Linked DNA regions of Homo sapiens: region 1 is linked to region 2. The links are contacts of gene promoters, found by promoter capture Hi-C in blood cells and fetal thymus (Javierre and others, 2016). All regions are on one chromosome and are shown on one strand. The core of a region is centred on a gene start or on the middle of the fragment in contact, and the rest is flanking DNA. Distances in the headings are between cores, read along the strand shown.

Region 1 (3,874 bases), core at 165-2,664, 510 kb before region 2:
GTACAAATAGACAAAACCATTTGACCAGGCATTTTTAACAATTCTGAAAAATTTCACCTATTTTGGATTGTTTTCTCCTATAACTCATAAAGCATTTAAAATTATACCAATCATCAATAAATTTAAATTTTTGAAATTTAAAAATTACCAGCCATAAATACATATACTTGATGTGACTTTTTATTTTATATACTTGTTTTTCTGAAATACTGAAGAATAAATTGGAGATATAATGCTTCTTGACCCCAAAATATGTCAACATGTAACTGCTAACAATAAGGACTTTGTCTTACAGAACCACAGTATGGTTATCAAACTCAGGGAATTTGATATTATCCAATCTGTAGTGCATATTTTGAATTCATCAATTGCACCAACAATGTCATTTATAGCTATGCCTATGATTTCTCCTTTTCTTCCTCCTCATATGAAAATATTACATAAAGTATGTAAAACAAGCACTAAAACAGAATGTATAACACTGAAGTAAAAGCAGTATTTCTTTTGCATATAGTATGAGAAATACAAAATACAACTAAAAAGTCAGAAAATCAATACTGCCTGGGCAGTTTTCTTGCCATGTTCCTCAATACATACATTAAAAAGAAAGAATTCTGAGGCTCTAATAGGAATCCCATATATTCAGTGCTTAAAGAAAATAAATTTGAAACAATACATACTCCATCCTTGAAAAAACTTGAATTCAAGAAACATTCACTGAATACTTACTATGCAGGCAGTACTCTGCGATACTCTCGGAGACACAAGTGGAATAAGACATAATCTTTGCCCTGTAAGAGCTTAAAATCCAGTTGCTCACATAAAATTAGGGATAGTGAGTTCATGGTTATACAGATGATCCAGTTTAAGAAAGAGAAAACAAACTATTTGAAGGTATCAATCTGACTATAGCACCATGAAATGGAAAAGTAGTTTGGTTTTGAGCCCTTACATTAAAATGCTTCATTAAGAATTCAATTTCTCTTCTTGACAGTTCAAATCTAATCAGATGACATGGTCATCTACATGAGATCCTAGTAGGACAATGAGTCCACTCGGTATATGCTGTTTTCTAGTCAGGTCATCTTAGAACAACGTAAAAAGCAAGCTGTGTTCTTGATTCTTCTAATACTTAAAAAAAAAAATTCTAAAGTTACATCAACTACTTAGCTCTTTTAAGAAAAAATAAAGAATTATTCCTTAAATACACTCTTAAATAAAAACTTATCTTAAATAATTAAAAAGTGAAAATACTAACACCATTTCTTACTTGGATCTAATTGTATGTCTTTTTACTTTTCTCTACTTCATTCTCTCTAGTCTAGGGCACAGACTATAGAATTCAAAGTTTATTGAAAAAGTAAAATTGAATGGGAAAGAAGAAATCACCTGAGGCTGGGCGCAGTGACCCACGCCTGTAATCTCAGCACTTTGGGAGGCCAAGGCAGATGGATCACCTGAGGTCAGGAGTTCGAGACCAGCCTGGCCAACATGGTGAAACCCCCATGGCTGCTAAAAAATAGAAAAACTAGCTGGGAATGGTGCCAGGTGCCTGTAATCCCAGCTACTCAGGAGGCTAGGGCAGGAAAACTGCTTAAACCTAGGAGGCGGAGGTTGCAGTGAGCCAAGACTGCACCATTGCACTCCAGCCTGGGCACCAAGAATGAAACTCTGTCTCAAAAAAAAAAAAAAAAAAAAAAATCACTTGAAAACTCATGGTCCCCTTTTAAAACTTCTAATTTTCTGGTAGAAGGGGGTAAAAAATACCAAATCTGCAAATTATATGTAAGTGTATCATGTTTCACACTCTCTTGAGGATCAAAAAAAGTCTGAAGAGACAGAAATAGATAAACCTGGTAGATAGTTCTGATGCTACTTGATGAAATCTCTAAAAGGTCATAGTAATAAAACCTCCTTAAGTGTTTAAAGCCTACTACATTTAAAGTTAAAACTGAAGCATATCAAAAACAATTCAGCATTCTTTAAAGTTCTTACCACAATCATTTCTGAAGGCTCTAATACAAGACAATCACATCCTCTTTTTCCTCCAAACTGCTTACCAAAACTATAAAAACAGAAAAACAATTTCTTTAGCAAAGGTTATTAATAAAATATATCAATATAGGAAAAGAAAACAAACAAACAACAAAAAAGCCCTGAGATATTATCCAAGAAATTCTGATCCTGTCACAATATTTATGTTAAGATTTTCTAAAAAAGAAAGAAAAAAAAAAACCTTTCTCTTAATTGTCCAGATATAACTGATCTCAATACTATATGAAAATTCTTTTTAAACTTCTGCCTTTAACTAGTCCCTAAAATTAATTATAAAAGATAACTGTCTAATCTCAAATTTCTAACATCTGTCAATATACGTTGCACAAAGAAAAAAATACACTTAGTAAAAATCTAATAAAAGTGATAACCTGATTAGGCAATTTAATAAAAGTAAATTATTATAATCTTTTGGGAGCAGTGTTAAGACAACAGATACTAAAAATAAAAAAACTTAAAAAATATTCACACTTGAGTAGTCTCTTGGTATCCAACTGGGATTGGTTCCAGAATCCCCAAGGATACAAAAATCTACCAGTGCTCAAGCGCCTAACATAAAATGATGTAGCATTTGCATATAACCTATGTGCATCCTTCCATATGCTTTAAATCAACTTGAGATTTTTAATAATACCTAATACACGGGAAATGCTACATAAATAGTTGTTATGCTTTATTGCTTAGGGAATAATGACAAGTAAAACAAGTCTATATATGCTTAGTAGAGATGCAACCATCCATTTTTTTTTCCAGGATCAGCAGTTGCTTGAATTAATGGATGTGAAACCCACGGATATGAAGTGCCAACTATATATAAAGAAATGTAGTTAGATATAAAGATGACTTCTTAAAAGAAAGTGTTGGAGTCACAGCTCTTTGGAAAAAACTAAAGCTGGACCAGTACTAAAAGACAGTATTTTTATATTCTTGGTCTCAGAAAGATTTCTCAGCATATCAAAAAGAAAGCAACCACAGAGAAAAAGATAGGTTTCCATTTTAAAAGATAACCTGAATTTTTTTTAATGAAGAATAAAAAAAAGCCCTGTCAACTATACTAAGACACAAATGACTTACATATGAAATATACAGAGCTCACTCAAAATAATGATAAAGCAACCAAAAGTATTATCATATATGAAAATTTAGTGCCAGTGTCAGTTAGTAAATAAAACATATAAATATTACTCCAAAATAACCAAATGGAAAAAAAACATTAATCATTCAAACAAAACAAAATACCAAAAAACATCTAATAAATAAATAAGTCATTTATAAAGAAAATTATACAACTTCATTGATGGGCTAGAAACAAAGCTTAAAGTAACATAGCTATACTTTTATGGGAAGGTTAAATATTTAAAAATGTCAATTTCCCAAAGTATAAGGTTCTATACAAATAACAGTTAATAACAAAATTCTAATCAAAATCCAAACAAAATAACTTTTGAACATAACCAAAAAATCACTTATGTTTTTTCTTCGAGACAGCATCTCACTCTGTGATCACCCAGGCTGCAGTGCAGTGGTGCAATCACGGCTCACTGTAGCCTCGACATCCCTGGGCTCAGGTGATCTTCCCATATCAGTCCCAAGTAGCTGGGACTACAGGCATGCACTACCATGCCTGGCGAATTTTTTAAATTTTTTGTAGAGACAGGGGTTTTGTCATTTTCACTATGCTGGTCTTGAACTCCTGGGCTCAAGCAATCCACCCACCTTGGCCTCCCAAAGTGCTAGGATTACAGGCGTGAGCCACTGCACCAGGCCTCACTTGTTTTTTCTTAAGCAGAAGATCCTTATCTTTTGTTTCCCCCAAATT
Region 2 (4,289 bases), core at 1,790-4,289:
GTAGGAAGGGGGGCCCCAGAGGGGTCATACCACCCATCGTGGTCCCCGCCTCTGCCCTGCCACAGCCCCATCGGAGCCCCTGAGTCAGCATGGCTGGCTATCGGTTGACACTGTTTAAAATACAGTGCAATCTAGGAATGCCTGCCTGTGTCATGGCCTCAGCCCTGATGTCATCTTTCCATGAGAAAGATGTGTGGCTGCCCACAAACCTCATCACCAAACCCATGGATTTCTGTCCTGTTTGTGCTGACTTGGGCACCTGCAGGCCACCACTGCCGAAATGGATTTCTTATTATGACTCTTGCTTTCCTCCTTTCCTTCCCTCCTAGGCCCTTGGCCACTGGCCTGTTACTTGCCCATCTGTTATGTCCCAGCCCTTAAACACAGCTTTGCTGGCCCTCAGCTCTTCTTCCTGAATAACTTCCGTGGCCTCAGCTACCACACAGACATGTACCGCTGCCAGATCTGTCTCCTGTACATGCAGACTCTGAAACTCCAAAACTTCCCGTGGGCCTCACGCTCTGAAGATCTGCTCCTTTGTCCCCTGGGTCCTCACCTTAGCCATGTGGACAGTGATTCTAACTCCTCTTACTCACATTCAAAGCACACTTTGGTGGGGGGGGAGGGGGGTGAGTAGACTAATCTTGCTCCTCCATGGATGGGGTTAAAAAGTCCTTGGAGGCAGGACCCTGACCGTTTTTGTCATCCTTATGTCCCTTTTCCCTGCTGGGAACCTAGTAGATGCTCAAAAAATAATGAATGACTGAGTGACTTCACTATAGCACCAAGTCCTGTTGAGATTCTACCTCCTCAATCTCTCTGGAGTCTGCCTGCTGTTCCTTATACCCATTCCTAAAACCCCAGGGCTCCCTGTGCCCAGAACATTCTCCCCTGTCCTCTCCTGCCCCTCTCCTTCCAACCCAACGTACCCACCTGACTTCTAGCCTTTCAGCCTGGGCTTGCAGGCAGGATCTCTAGTGAAGCTCTCTGGTCCCCTTGGATCCCCAAGCTAGAGAAGGTGGCCCTCTGGGATCCCTCAGCTCTGGACTTCCCCCTGCCGAGTCAAGGTCACACCATGGGAGGGTCCATTGCAGTCTGTTTCCTACCAGACTGGGAGCCTCAAGGGCCAAATGTGAGGGCCAGTGGGAGGGTCCCGTTTACCTCCCCAGAACAGGTCCTGGTGTGGATTGGAAAGACTTGTTGACTGACTGTCTGAGCTATGACAACTCATTTCTAGGAGGAAAGTGACCTTCTCTCCCAGATGGGTCATACAGGCTCTCTGCCTCCCTGGCCATCAGCTGAACCACTATCTATGGCTCCCTTCCCTGCCCTCCAGCCTCCAGGGTGCTATCCAACACATGTGATATCTACATGTAGTATCCATGTCCTCATCTCTCCCCCGAGAGCTCCCTGGAAAGAGCTGAGCCAAGGCCTTGCAAAAAAGGTGGAGAAAGGGCCAGGGCCTGGACATTTCATGTTCCCACCCCAGCCTGGCCACTAGGAGTGTTCTACGCAGGCTCAGATGGATGGGGCTGGCCTCACAGTGGGGTCTGGAGGACTAAGGTTTGGTTTCTCTATGCAAGGTCAGAAAAACTCCCACAGTACAGGGAAACTGGCCAGGGCTGCAGACTCAGACCACAGTGCTAAAGCCATGAACTCCACCTGCTCTCTGAAGGCTCGCCAACCTGAGTCCAGCAGAATGTTCTCGCTTGTGTCCAACCCCACTGGTTTAGGCTGAATCAGCCTCTAGGGCCCAGAGGCACTGCACCTGGAGTAGGGAGCTTCTCCAGTATCAGAGTCACCTTCAGAGGCCTGGAGCCTTTCATAAAGCAGGTAAGAGGACTCAATAGATGCATCTGCATGGAAAACATCCTCCCCTCTACCAGGCACCTGTATGTACAACCAATCACAGCAGCACACATACACCCAGAAATGGGCACGTGTGGGCCCACACCCCTTTAGCTATGAAACCCAGGCATGGGGCAGCTTGAGCCAGATACCTTGTGCAAACACAAACTCGTGCTGTCTTCTCTGAACTCCATTGTGAAAATCAAACACTTGTCAGCCCCTCAAGAGCCTTTAGATTTCCTACTTCCACACTTCCACAGAAAGGCCTCTGGAGTTGGGGGATGCTGGGGTTATGTAGGAAATTAAGCCTGGAGGGCCTTGCTGGGGAAGCCATTGTCCCTGTACCTGAGATGGATGCAGCCACAGCCCTGGAGCCAGCCTGAAGCTCCTGGTGTCTTCTGGGGGCTACATATAGGAGTGTAGTCCGAACCTCAGAGGGGCAAACCTGCTCTGCAGAGGGAATCAAGGTTCACATAACCAGAGAGGGGAGTCACTCAGGAAGGTGGCTCCAGAGCCAAGAGTCAGACTCTGGGTCCCGACTTGACCCAGCCACACCCCCTCTGAAGCTTGCTGAGAGTGGCTGCAGTCTCGCTGCTGGATGTGCACATGGTGGTCATTCCCTCTGCTCACAGGGGCAGGGGTCCCCCCTTACTGGACTGAGGTTGCCCCCTGCTCCAGGTCCTGGGTGGGAGCCCATGTGAACTGTCAGTGGGGCAGGTCTGTGAGAGCTCCCCTCACACTCAAGTCTCTCACAGTGGCCAGAGAAGAGGAAGGCTGGAGTCAGAATGAGGCACCAGGGCGGGCATAGCCTGCCCAAAGGCCCCTGGGATTACAGGCAGGATGGGGAGCCCTATCTAAGTGTCTCCCACGCCCCACCCCAGCCATTCCAGGCCAGGAAGTCCAAACTGTGCCCCTCAGAGGGAGGGGGCAGCCTCAGGCCCATTCAGACTGCCCAGGGAGGGCTGGAGAGCCCTCAGGAAGGCGGGTGGGTGGGCTGTCGGTTCTTGGAAAGGTTCATTAATGAAAACCCCCAAGCCTGACCACCTAGGGAAAAGGCTCACCGTTCCCATGTGTGGCTGATAAGGGCCAGGAGATTCCACAGTTCAGGTAGTTCCCCCGCCTCCCTGGCATTTTGTGGTCACCATTAATCATTTCCTCTGTGTATTTAAGAGCTCTTTTGCCAGTGAGCCCAGTACACAGAGAGAAAGGCTAAAGTTCTCTGGAGGATGTGGCTGCAGAGCCTGCTGCTCTTGGGCACTGTGGCCTGCAGCATCTCTGCACCCGCCCGCTCGCCCAGCCCCAGCACGCAGCCCTGGGAGCATGTGAATGCCATCCAGGAGGCCCGGCGTCTCCTGAACCTGAGTAGAGACACTGCTGCTGAGATGGTAAGTGAGAGAATGTGGGCCTGTGCCTAGGCCACCCAGCTGGCCCCTGACTGGCCACGCCTGTCAGCTTGATAACATGACATTTTCCTTTTCTACAGAATGAAACAGTAGAAGTCATCTCAGAAATGTTTGACCTCCAGGTAAGATGCTTCTCTCTGACATAGCTTTCCAGAAGCCCCTGCCCTGGGGTGGAGGTGGGGACTCCATTTTAGATGGCACCACACAGGGTTGTCCACTTTCTCTCCAGTCAGCTGGCTGCAGGAGGAGGGGGTAGCAACTGGGTGCTCAAGAGGCTGCTGGCCGTGCCCCTATGGCAGTCACATGAGCTCCTTTATCAGCTGAGCGGCCATGGGCAGACCTAGCATTCAATGGCCAGGAGTCACCAGGGGACAGGTGGTAAAGTGGGGGTCACTTCATGAGACAGGAGCTGTGGGTTTGGGGCGCTCACTGTGCCCCGAGACCAAGTCCTGTTGAGACAGTGCTGACTACAGAGAGGCACAGAGGGGTTTCAGGAACAACCCTTGCCCACCCAGCAGGTCCAGGTGAGGCCCCACCCCCCTCTCCCTGAATGATGGGGTGAGAGTCACCTCCTTCCCTAAGGCTGGGCTCCTCTCCAGGTGCCGCTGAGGGTGGCCTGGGCGGGGCAGTGAGAAGGGCAGGTTCGTGCCTGCCATGGACAGGGCAGGGTCTATGACTGGACCCAGCCTGTGCCCCTCCCAAGCCCTACTCCTGGGGGCTGGGGGCAGCAGCAAAAAGGAGTGGTGGAGAGTTCTTGTACCACTGTGGGCACTTGGCCACTGCTCACCGACGAACGACATTTTCCACAGGAGCCGACCTGCCTACAGACCCGCCTGGAGCTGTACAAGCAGGGCCTGCGGGGCAGCCTCACCAAGCTCAAGGGCCCCTTGACCATGATGGCCAGCCACTACAAGCAGCACTGCCCTCCAACCCCGGTGAGTGCCTACGGCAGGGCCTCCAGCAGGAATGTCTTAATCTAGGGGGTGGGGTCGACATGGGGAGAGATCTATGGCTGTGGCTGTTCAGGACCCCAGGGGG

The links. The method cuts DNA at HindIII sites, captures the fragments that hold promoters and counts their contacts. A CHiCAGO score of 5 or more calls a contact.
Region 1: a fragment that was not itself captured here is called in contact with the fragment with the promoter of CSF2 in region 2 in 1 of 17 cell types (neutrophils); the score reaches 6.8 in neutrophils.

What each region holds. Positions count from the first base shown.
Region 1 is chr5:131,559,983-131,563,856 of GRCh38, forward strand. RAPGEF6 (Rap guanine nucleotide exchange factor 6) reads right to left here. Exons shown (of 28, transcript NM_016340.6): 5 at 1,996-2,065. Among named protein-coding and RNA genes, the nearest start is that of RAPGEF6, 73 kb to the right of the region's middle. The HindIII fragment of the contact is 3,906 bases long and covers 1-3,367 here.
Region 2 is chr5:132,070,750-132,075,038 of GRCh38, forward strand. CSF2 (colony stimulating factor 2) reads left to right here and starts at 3,040. Exons shown (of 4, transcript NM_000758.4): 1 at 3,040-3,233; 2 at 3,332-3,373; 3 at 4,061-4,186. The coding sequence starts at 3,075. The HindIII fragment of the contact is 5,468 bases long and covers 2,413-4,289 here.